4 separate regions of the Homo sapiens genome follow, and all the other regions are linked to region 1. Evidence: promoter capture Hi-C in 16 types of primary human blood cells and fetal thymus (Javierre and others, 2016). All regions are on one chromosome and are shown on one strand. The core of a region is centred on a gene start or on the middle of the fragment in contact, and the rest is flanking DNA. Distances in the headings are between cores, read along the strand shown.

Region 1 (2,700 bases), core at 73-2,572:
CTTTGTTGAGGAATACAGATTGAGCTTGAACTTGTGAACTAGGATATTGGGCCCTGGCTAAAGGCCTCCATGTTTATTTATTTATGTATTTTGGTAGAGCTGAGAGTCTCATTATGTTGCCCAGGCTGGATTTGAACTCCCGAGCTCAAGTGATCCTCCTTTCTCAGCCTCCCGAGTAATTTACTCTTATTCCTGGTTGTAAATGTTAGGGATGACCAGTCCATAGCATGGGGAGGGATGAGGGCTATGCATAAGAAGGCTCAGACATTGGAGCCTCCAGAGGTGGGTAACATTTGCTTTCGGGTTTCTCACTGGGGGAAGGAAAGGCTATGGCCAAAGCCCTGGGCATAATTTATATATGGATCTTTGGGATAAGCAAGATTTAAACAACAACAACAACAACAACAACAAGAAACTTAAAAAAACAAGTTTTTAATTTACAGGAAAAAAATGGAAGGTAATAGAGGGTCCCCACATATTCTGCACCCAATTTCTCTTTTTATTAACATCTTAGCATTAGTATTATGCATTTGTAACAACTAATGAACTAATATTGATACATTATTATTAATTAAAGTCCACCCTTTATTTAGATTTCCTTAGTTTTTACCCAGTATTCTTTTTCTCTTCCATGATCGCATTCAGAAAACCACATTACATTTAGTCATCAGGTCTCCTTAGCCCTCTTAGTTGTGACAGTTTCTCAGAATTCCTTTGATTTTGATCACCTTCACCTTAGTTTCCTCTTTACTTTCCCTTGTATCCAAGCTGTATGGAGGGCCTGGAGATTCTGATAGGACTGTAAGATTCGGGGACGGTGATATGTGTGCAACTAAGGCACCTCGGTGTCGCTTTTAGAATATAGTTGTGGAAATGAGAATAGCTCTGGTAGCTCCAGGGGCTTAGGAGAACAGAAAGAGCCCAGGAAAGGAGAAAGACCTTATTGCTGAACGCCACACCCTTGCCCCCACGCCACACCCTTGCCGCACCTACTAACTAGGGGCTAACGAATGAAAGGGTGTCGGAATATGATGGAGAAGCCCGGTCGACAGTGACGTCGTGGGCGACGCCGGGTTGTGAGCGGCCTTTCGAGCTCCCTCGAGTCCCTGAGTCTCTGTAGTGCCTCAGCTCCTGGATGTCCTCCCTTAAAGGAGAAGAACAATGCGGGCCGACTAGACGAGTCCCTTAGTTTCCTCGCCGGCGCAGACAAATACGGTTTCAGTCCAAGGAACTACCATTCCCAGAAGACAGCGGGGCGTTCCTTGCTGCATTTCTATTGGTTGGCGTTTGTTACTCCCAGCCAATAGAAAGTGAGCTTCTTGACAAGTGCCAAAATGGCGATGCCTACCACCTAGAACTGGATTGTGCGGTAGGCTTAAATTTGGGGAGGTGGTGGATGAAAAGGAAATTGGGAGGTATAGTTACAGGGCTGGAGAAGGTGGAGGAAATGAGGGAGCAAATCTGGACTTGGAATGGTGGTGGCCAAGGGACGCTTTTAGAGCTAAGGGCGTAATTAGGCAACCAGGACTGCCTTAACTCCTTGATGCCCTGTTTAATCTATTAGTCCCTTTGATACTTCTTTATTCATTTATTTGAGAGACGGAGTTTTGCTCTTGTTGCCCAGGCTGGAGTGCAATGGTGCGATCTCGGCTCACCCCAACAACCTCCGCCTCCCGGGTTCAAGCGATTCTACTGCCTCAGCCTCCCGAGTAGCTGGGATTACAGGCATGCACCACCAAGCCCGGCTAATTTTGTATTTTTAGTGGAGACGAGGTTTCTCCATGTTGGTCAGGCTAGTCTCGAACTCCTGACCTCCGGTGATTCGCCCGCCTCTGCCTCCCGAAGTGCTGGGATTACAGGTGCGAGCCACTGCGCTCGGCCGATACTTTCTTAGTGCCCCAGTTTAAGGAAGGGCGGTTCAGGAGGAGAGAGTCTGACAGGATCTTACTTTATCCCTTTAGCTCTTTTTCTTTCAAATTCCTCTGTCTCGCTTAAATCTTCCCGCATCTTCTCCTTTCTATTTAATTCTGCCTTCCCCGGTTCTCCTTAGAACCTCATGTCCTTTTCTTTAGCTCCATTTCTTTCACCTCAAAGCTGGCCGCCACCGCTGCCACCTGCTCAGAGTGAAATAATGAAGGTGGTCAACCTGAAGCAAGCCATTTTGCAAGCCTGGAAGGAGCGCTGGAGTGACTACCAATGGGCAATCAACATGAAGAAATTCTTTCCTAAAGGAGCCACCTGGGATATTCTCAACCTGGCAGGTCTCAAGTGAACTGGGAAAGAAAGATGGGAGGGATAAACCCAGAGAAGTTGTAATCACTCAGTTGTGTTTTGCTATTCCTCTTGCAGATGCGTTACTAGAGCAGGCCATGATTGGACCATCCCCCAATCCTCTCATCTTGTCCTACCTGAAGTATGCCATTAGTTCCCAGGTAAGCTTCCCGCAAACCCCCACCAAGAAGTGAGAGTTCTGGGGGTAAAAAACTTGGAGTGCATTTGGGCCCCGGTGGTTCATGGCTGTAATCCCAGCATTGTGGGAGGCTGAGGCAGGCGGATTGCTTGAGCCCAGGAGTTCAAGACCAGCCTGCGTAACATGGCAAAACCCAGTCTCTACCCAAAAATACAAAGAGTTACCCCTGCGTGGTGGTGCCCCTGTAGTCCCAGCTACTTGGAAGGCTGAGGTGGGAGGATCACCTGAGC
Region 2 (2,700 bases), core at 154-2,653, 200 kb before region 1:
GGCGCGGTGGCTAATGCCTGTAATCTTAGCACTCTGGGAGGCTGAGGCGGGCAGATCACCTGAGGCCAGGAGTTCGAGACCAGCCTGACCAACATGGAAGAAACCCCATCTCTACTAAAAATACAAAATTAGCCAGGCATGGTGGCACATGGGATTACAATCCCAGCTACTAGGGAGGCTGAGGCAGGAGAATCGCTTGAACCTGGAAGGCGGAGGTTGTGGTGAGCCGAGATCGCGCCATTGTACTCCAGCCTGGGCAACAAGAGCGAAACTCCATCTCAAAAAAAAAAACCAAACAAACCAGGGAAAATAACAGTTGATTCAGAAACAAACATTTTCAACTAATTCCAGTCACCAGAGGTCCTGCCTTTTTGAGGAGGTTTCTAGTTTTTTTTTTTTTTGAGACAGAGTCTCTGTTGCCTAGGCTGGAGTACAGTAACATCATCTCGGCTCGCTGCAACCTCTTCCTCCCAGGTTCAAGCGATTCTCCTGCCTCAACCTCCCAAACAGCTGGGACTACAGGCGCATGCCACCACACCCAGCTAATTTCTGTATTTTTAGTAGAGACGGGGTTTCACCAAGTTAGCCAGGCTGGTCTCAAACTCCTGACCTCAAATGATCCTCACGCCTCGGCCACCCAAAGTGCTGGGATTACAGGGGTGAGCCACCATGCCCGGCCTGGGTTTCTAGTTCTATCAGCCATTGGCCATTGCCATAATTGAAAGGATCTCCTAGAATGACCCAAAAAAGACTCAGACAAGTCCTTTACTCTTTCCATGTCCATAGGTGATCCAATCTCCGTGCTACAAGGTGAATAATGACCTAAAAGGAACAGCCTTATGCCTGTCAGTGTGCTCCACTTATTTAAGCAAAGCAGGAATTCTCTAGCATAGCAATTTTTTTTAAGCAATATATTACACAGTTAAAGATGCCTTCCTAAAATAGACTCAATTCAAACTCTAATTGAAAAACAGATTCATCAGTGGCGCTTGCCTATAATTGCAGCTATTCAGGGGGCCAAGAAGGGAGGATCACTTGAGCCTTTGTTTTTGGATCCAGCCTAGGCAACACAGCAAGACCCCTTAAAAAATTAAGTACATAAAAAAAGTTAAATCAAAGAAACACCATCTATATCAAGTGACTGACTTTAGTGTTGACTACCAACAGTGGCTCTCAAGCTTTCTTCTGGCTCCACAGGGATTGTATGCATGACACACTCCTATCAATGACATTTATTACATAATGATGTATTATCCTTCCCATTTTATGGTGAGGACACTGAAGTCCCAGGAGTGGGAGTGCCTACATGTACATGAGAAAAACTGACTCATCAAAGGGCAACTGCCCAAGATCACTCAGGAATAAAGTGCAGAGTTAGGCCTCATATCCAGGTCTCCTGACTTCTTCCTTTTCACTAATCACTATGGAGAAAACAAACAAAAAACTCCCCTGGAAATTAGTGTGGTTTAGCAATTTTCTATTTTTCCCCAAATGAAATTTAACTCATTCCAAATTTCTTAGTTATAGAATACAAACAGTTCTCTATATGTTTCCAAGAACAGCCCCATTTAGGTGAATTCAAATTAAAACAACTTTCCTTTCCCTGAAAAACTCCCAAAAGAAGCTTTTTGTTTACATCAAATTAGGACTGAGACTTATAATCGCTAATCCAATGCAGAGGGTCTGCTTTGAGAACTACTTTGAGTTAAAAAAAAAAAAAAATGAACCAAAACAATTCATAACATTTGACAACAGAAAGACAAATTTCACTAACCAACTGTGATTAATCAAAGGACAAATTTGAGCCTTCTGGAAGCACTGTCTATTGCAATACTAAGAATCTAATAGGCTGGACGCAGTGGCTCACGCCTGTAATCCCAGCACTTTGGGAGGCCGAGGAGGGCGGATCACAAGGTCAGGAGATTGAGACCATCCTGGCTAACACAGTGAAACCCCGTCTCTACTAAGAAACATAAAAAATTAGCTGGGCGTGGTGGCGGGCGCCTGTAGTCCCAGCTACTCGGGAGGCTGAGGCAGGAGAATAGCATGAACCCAGGAGGCGGAGCTGGCAGTGAGCCGAGATTGCGCCACTGCACTCCAGCCTAGGTGACAAAGCGAGACTCAAAAAAAAAAAAAAAAAAAAAAAGAATCTAATAGCTAACGTGTACTGGCACCATCATAGCTCACTGTAACCTCAAACTCCTGGGCTCCAGTGATCCTTCTGCCTCAGCCTCCCGAGAAGATAGGACTACAAGTGAGCACCACCACGTGCAGCTAAGAATCTAATGGTCTTGAGGTTAAACCTGAGATTAAATTTAGAAAAGAACAAGAAGGTTCTCTACAGAATTTTAAGTATTTCCTTTCTGATCTATTAAATTAGAACTACAAACCTCACCATCTGTGCTCTTCAGAGACCTTGACTTTCAGAAACATCTTGAGGCTGCCTCAAGTTCGGAAACACAGTAATTCTCATTCCTTTCTTAAGCCCTTCCATCTTAAAAACCAAGATAAAGGCCGGGTGTGGTGGCTCACGCCTGGAATCCCAGCACTTTGGGAGGCCGAGGTGGGCGGATCACAAGGTCAGGAGATAGAGACCATCTTGTCCAACACGGTGAAACCCTGTCTCTACTAAAAAAAAAAAAAAAATACAAAAATACAAAAAATTAGCCGGGCATGGCAGCGGGCACCTGTAGTCCCAGC
Region 3 (2,700 bases), core at 173-2,672, 140 kb before region 1:
GGGGGCTTCATTTTGGAGATCACTTCTCGGTAGCTTTTGTGGTTCCTGCAGGGGTCCTAGTATTCCACAGGAGAGAGATCAAGGGACAGACTGGCCAATGCATCCCAAAGATGTCCTCAGCTTCCTCCCTCACCCCCTGCCTTGTATACATTCCTGATCAGATAGGGGTGCTGGGGGCTTTCTAATGGTGTGGTGGGGAGGGACCTGACTACTCCCCCTTTCCTTCAAGAAAAACAGGGGCGCAATCCTTCCAACCTCACCCTCCAGCATGGTAAGGAGGGTGGGGGGTCCCATACACTAAACACCTTGAAAGGAAAGCTTGAGGAAGGGGGTTTATGGGAACAGAGGGTTTCTGGGCTCTCAGTCCAAGAGCAGAAGAAAGAGCCAAACCCACTCACCGTCAGGTTCTCAAATTTGCGAAACAAGTTCTTGAATTTCCCTGGCAGCTTCTGCAGAGTTTGAAGGAAGGAGAAGGGATATCAGAGTGGAGCTCCTTGGGTTACATGGGAGCCTCGGATTAATTCTCCCTGTTGGAGGGCAAAAGGGCCTGCATGGCTTGTAGGGGGCTGGGAAGCTGGTGGGTGGGGAAATGAAGTCAGGCCTTGGCTAAGTCTAGAGGCTTGAAACAGCCCAGAGGAATTCATTATTCTGGGGAAGGCCAGGTCTGTCTTATGCAGGTGCTTTGTATAAAGATGCCCCCACTGAGTGTGGATGAAAATCAGCCCAACTCCCACAGCCAAGTCTGCGACCTGACCTGGCCAAGGGCTGCCTGCCGTGACTCAGGCGGGATCCGGGCTTTTCACTAATTTGCACAAAGACAGGGTCCATTAGCCAAGCTGTGCGCCCTGGGGTTGCGTATGCCAGAAGAGGGCGCCTCCCTCCAACTGGCGCAAAGACTCCCTCCAGGCCGGCGGCCGTCCCGGGAGGACGCACTTCGGGGAGCCCGGGATGCCCAGATTCCCAGGTAGGAACGGGAGGGGTCTCATCACCTCCCAGGTGAGTCGAAGGCGGCTGACAGCGGCGTTGTCCAGCCCCATGACCACGGCGTAGAAAGACAGCAGGTCCTGGTTCTGCTTGCAGCTGCGGGGGTGGGAGGCGGGGTCAGGGGCGGGCGGCGGCGCGGGCCTCCGGCCTCCGGCCCCCCATCCCGCCGACGGCCGCACTCACAGGGCCGCGATCTTGATGAACTTCTTGAGCAGCTGCGCGCGCTTGCCCGGGGCCTCGCAGAGCAGCACTTCGGTGGCCACCCAGTGCGTGACCTCGCTGCAGCGCTGCAGCAGCAGCTCCAAGTTGGCCGTCTCCCGGCGGCCGCGCTCCCCGTGGAACACGTAGTCCACGAACTCCAGCTGCACCCACGGCAGCGGAGGGGCGGCCAGGGCGCCAGGGGGTGAGGGGAGTGGGTGGGAAGATGGCAGTGCAAGGCGATGAGGAGCGAAAGGCAGGAGGGCGGGGGCGGAAGGGGTGGAAAATAGAAAAATAGAAAGGACAGGAGGCGGCAAAGATGCGGAAAAAGAAAACAACCAGCATTAATAATATTTCACCAGCTACTGAGCACTTACTAGGTGCCAGGCATTCGCTCACGGCTGACATCCTCAAGACAACCATCTGCTAGGCATTATTGTCTCTGCCTTATTTTATTTCTTTAATAGTGAATATTTTAAAAATAGAAATCCTGGGTCAGGTTCTGTGTAAACAGCACTTGGGCCCTGAGCCACTGTGCTCTGGGGTCTCTCTCTTTGCGATTTTTTTCAGATGGGGGAACAAAGGTTACGGCCATGCGTTGCCCAAGGGCTTGCTGCAAGTGAGCCTTGGAACCAGGACGTTGTGCTGCGAACACCGTCTCCCAATGGCACATTTCTCCCTCCAGCCCCCCAGCATAGCACCAGCCTCGGTCCCCACCTCATGCACACATCGGAACAGCTCCCAGTGGAAGGCAGTTAGGTGGTTGGCAACGTCCTCAGGCTCCACTCGGTGGATCTCTGTGTCTCCAGGGGAGACCTGGATCTCCTCGGGGAGGGGCACCTGGTGGCAGGCAGGGGCATAGGGGCTGGGCTCCTGGTGGCAGGGTGAGGGATTGCTCACAGCCCTCCTCAGCCCTCCATTCCAGTCAAGGCCTTGGGAAGTTCTTACCAGAGCCTCATAGCTGTCCCGAGTACAGGCAAACAGGTGGCTGTTGATGCCCAGTGCGGTGAAAACACAGTCCTCAGTGGGCTGGAGAAGGACCTTCTCTGCAGGAGAAAGAGCTGCTCATCCTCGGCCCCTGCCGCCTGCACCCTCACACATCCCACACTGACACTGTCCTATCCAAAAACTCCTCACCCCACACTGACACATTCTAGACTAATGGAACTCATCTTATCACTAGTTTATGCCATATTTATCTGGAATTTGTCAAATGATTATTTCTTTTGCATTTATAACTTTTTTTCTACTCCCTTTCTTTCACAGCTTTTCTCTTACTCTGTTGTCCTTGTGACACTGGGAAGGCTGAAATTTTTTCCTACTGTAGAGGAAAACAAAGCTTCAGTGACATTGCTGGCTTTCTGCCTTCCCACTCATCCTGTGTCTTTAGCCTGTGAAATGTGGCATCCTTACATACACAGGGAGGTTAAAGGATCAGAATACAATCCATAGGTGAGTGAGGGGCAGCACTCAGATCAGAACCTGAGTCCTAGACCAGTGCCTCCCAAACTTTTTTTT
Region 4 (2,700 bases), core at 96-2,595, 150 kb before region 1:
GCTGCAGAGACCACCTGGAGGGAGAAGCCTGGACATGGAGAGAAAAGTCCAGCCATCCTTGTGGTCCCTTTGTTCCCACCAGGGCTCAGGACATGTGAGCTAGCATCCTAGCTAGCTCCAGTGGCTTTTTTTTTTTTTTTTTTTTTTTTTTTTGAGACTGAGTCTCGCTTTGTCAGGCTGGAGTGCAGTGGCACGATCTCGGCCCACTGCCATCTCCGCCTCCCGAGTTCAAGCGATTCTTCTGCCTCAGCCTCCTGAGAAGCTGGGATTACAGGCACCAGCCACCATGCCCGACTAATTTTTGTATGCTTAGTAGAGATGGGGTTTTGCCACACTGGCCAGGCTGGTCTCAAACTCCTGACCTCAGGTGATCCGCCCGCCTCGGCCTCCCAAAGTGCTGGGATTACAGGCGTAAGCCACTGCACCTGGCCCTCCAGTGGCCTTCTGACTGCAGCAAGAGAGACCTCAAGTGAGACCAGAAGAACTATCCAGCTAAGCTCCCATCAGCCCGGAAGATCATGAGAAGTTATAAAATGGTTGCTGTTTTTAGGCTGGGTGCAGTGGCTCACACCTGTAATCCTAGCACTTTGGGACGCTGAGGCAGGTAGATCACCTGAGGTCAGGAGTTCAAAACCAGCCTGGGCAACATAGTGAAACCCTGTCTCTACTAAAAATACAAAAATTAGCTGGGCGTGGTGGCTCATGCCTGTAATCCCAACTATTTGGGAGACTGAGGCACAAGAATCACTTGAACCCAGGAGGCGGAGGTTGCAGTGAGCCAAGATCATGCCACCGCACTCCAGCCTGGGCGACAGAGCAAGACTCTGTCTCAAAAAAAAATAAAAAGTAAAATAAAATAAAACAAAGTTGTCATTTTTAAGCTACTAAATTTGGAACTGTTTGTTATGCAGCAGTAGATTCCCAAACACAAATATGACGATGAAATCTAAGCCCAGGATTATGGAAGGAAAAAAAAAGGGCTCAAGAGGGAGCTGGGGCACTCCACATACAAGGACCAGGCTGAGGGAGAGGCCAGTGAGGAAGACTGAGAAAGAGAAGACAGGGAAATCCTGAGAACGTAGCATCCTGGAAGCAGCGATAAGTGTTCCAGAAGGAAGAATGGTCAGAAATATCAAATGCCAGCAATAGGAAAATAAGTGTTCTTGGATTTGGTAACATGGGAGTCATCGGTGCTCTTGACCCAGGCAGATTATGTGAGTGATGACAGAGAAAGCCAGATGCACTGGGTTGAGAATCAAAGAGAAACACAGAACAGCAAAACCAAACAAACCAGTAATATATGCTGACCTGGATGAGCCTCACAGGCAGAGTGTTGTGGATGGGGAGTTGCTGAACACCACATCCAGTATGATAATATTTATATAAAATCTAAAAACATTCAATTGGCCAAGCGTGGTGGCTCACACCTGTAATTCCAGCACTTTGTGTGGCCGACCGAGGCAGGCAGATAGCTTGAGGCCAAGAGTTTGAGACGAGCCTGGGCAACACGATAAAAACCCCGTCTCTACTAAAAATCCAGAAAAATTAGCTGTGCTTGGTGGTGCGCGCCTGTGGTCCCAGCTACTCAGTAAGTTGAGGTGGGAGGATCACTTGAGTCCAGGATGCAGAGGCAGAGGCTGCAGTGAGCTGAGATCGTGACACCGCACTCCAGCCTGGGTGACACAGGAAGACTCTGTCTCAAAAAAAAAAAAAAAAGAAAGAAAAGAAAAGAGAGGCTGGGCGCAGTGGCTCACGCCTGTAGTCCCAGCAGTTTGGGAGGCCGAGGCGGGCGGATCACGAGGTCAGGAGATCGAGACCACAGTGAAACCCCATCTCTACTAAAAATACAAAAAATTAGCCGGGCGTCGTGGCGGGCCTCTGTAATCCCAGCTATTCAGGAGGCTGAGGCAGTATAATCACTTGAACCTGGGAAGCGGAGGTGGCAGTGAGCCAAGATCATGCCACTGCACTCCAGCCTGGGTGACAAGAGTGAGACTCCATCTCAAAAAAAAAAGAAAGAAAGAAGAAGAGAGGACACAGAGAGACACACAGAGGAGAATGCCTTGTAATGATGGAGGCAGAGACTGGTGTGATGAGTCTAGAAGCCAAGCAAATAAAATTCACATAACATAAAACTCACCATTGTAACCACTTTAAAGCATCCAAGTGAGTATATAGTATATTTACAATGTTGTACAGCCATCACCACTATCTAATTCCAAAACATTTTCATCACCCAAAAAGAAACTCCATACCCATTAGTAGCCTCTCCCCATTCTGCTCTCACCCCAGCCCATGGCAACCAGAAACTATCTACTTTCTGTCTCTATGGATTTGTCTATGCTGGACATTTCATATAAATGGAATCATACAATATGAGGCCTTTTGTGTCTGGTTTTTTAGCACAGTTTTTTCAAGGTTCATCCATGTTGTAGTATATATCAGTACTTCATTCCTTGCTATGGTTTGACTTTGTGTCCCCACCCAAATCTCATGTCAAATTGTAATTTCCAATGTTAGGAGGGACCTGGCAGGAGGTGACTGGATCATGGGAGCAGATTTCCCCCTTGCTGATTCCGTGATAATGAATGAGTTCTCATGAGATCTGGTTGTTTAAAAGTGTGTGGCACTGGCCAGGCACATGGCTCACGCCTGTAATCCCAGCATTTGGGAGGCCAACGCGGGTGGATCACCTGAGGT

The links. The method cuts DNA at HindIII sites, captures the fragments that hold promoters and counts their contacts. A CHiCAGO score of 5 or more calls a contact.
Region 2: a fragment that was not itself captured here is called in contact with the fragment with the promoter of MED24 in region 1 in 1 of 17 cell types (M1 macrophages); the score reaches 5.5 in M1 macrophages.
Region 3: a contact is called between a fragment that was not itself captured here and the fragment with the promoter of MED24 in region 1, in 16 of 17 cell types (naive CD4 T cells, megakaryocytes, erythroblasts and 13 more). The highest score is 10.4, in naive CD4 T cells.
Region 4: a contact is called between a fragment that was not itself captured here and the fragment with the promoter of MED24 in region 1, in 3 of 17 cell types (neutrophils, naive CD8 T cells and naive CD4 T cells). The highest score is 6.1, in neutrophils.

Annotation. Positions count from the first base shown.
Region 1 is chr17:40,053,030-40,055,729 of GRCh38, reverse strand. MED24 (mediator complex subunit 24) reads left to right here and starts at 1,322. Exons shown (of 26, transcript NM_014815.4): 1 at 1,322-1,369; 2 at 2,095-2,261; 3 at 2,350-2,432. The coding sequence starts at 2,132. RefSeq lists an enhancer at 1,063-1,122. The HindIII fragment of the contact is 3,100 bases long and covers 1-2,439 here.
Region 2 is chr17:40,250,361-40,253,060 of GRCh38, reverse strand. All of the region lies in intron 1 of WIPF2 (WAS/WASL interacting protein family member 2), which reads right to left. Among named protein-coding and RNA genes, the nearest start is that of WIPF2, 32 kb to the right of the region's middle. The HindIII fragment of the contact is 446 bases long and covers 1,181-1,626 here.
Region 3 is chr17:40,189,962-40,192,661 of GRCh38, reverse strand. RAPGEFL1 (Rap guanine nucleotide exchange factor like 1) reads right to left here. Exons shown (of 15, transcript NM_016339.6): 7 at 2,131-2,228; 8 at 1,900-2,022; 9 at 1,168-1,346; 10 at 990-1,080; 11 at 399-449; 12 at 1-56. Among named protein-coding and RNA genes, the nearest start is that of MIR6867, 2.3 kb to the left of the region's middle. RefSeq lists an enhancer at 921-1,000 and a silencer at 1,121-1,180. The HindIII fragment of the contact is 2,203 bases long and covers 321-2,523 here.
Region 4 is chr17:40,206,693-40,209,392 of GRCh38, reverse strand. No RefSeq gene overlaps it. Among named protein-coding and RNA genes, the nearest start is that of WIPF2, 11 kb to the left of the region's middle. The HindIII fragment of the contact is 6,806 bases long and covers 1-2,700 here.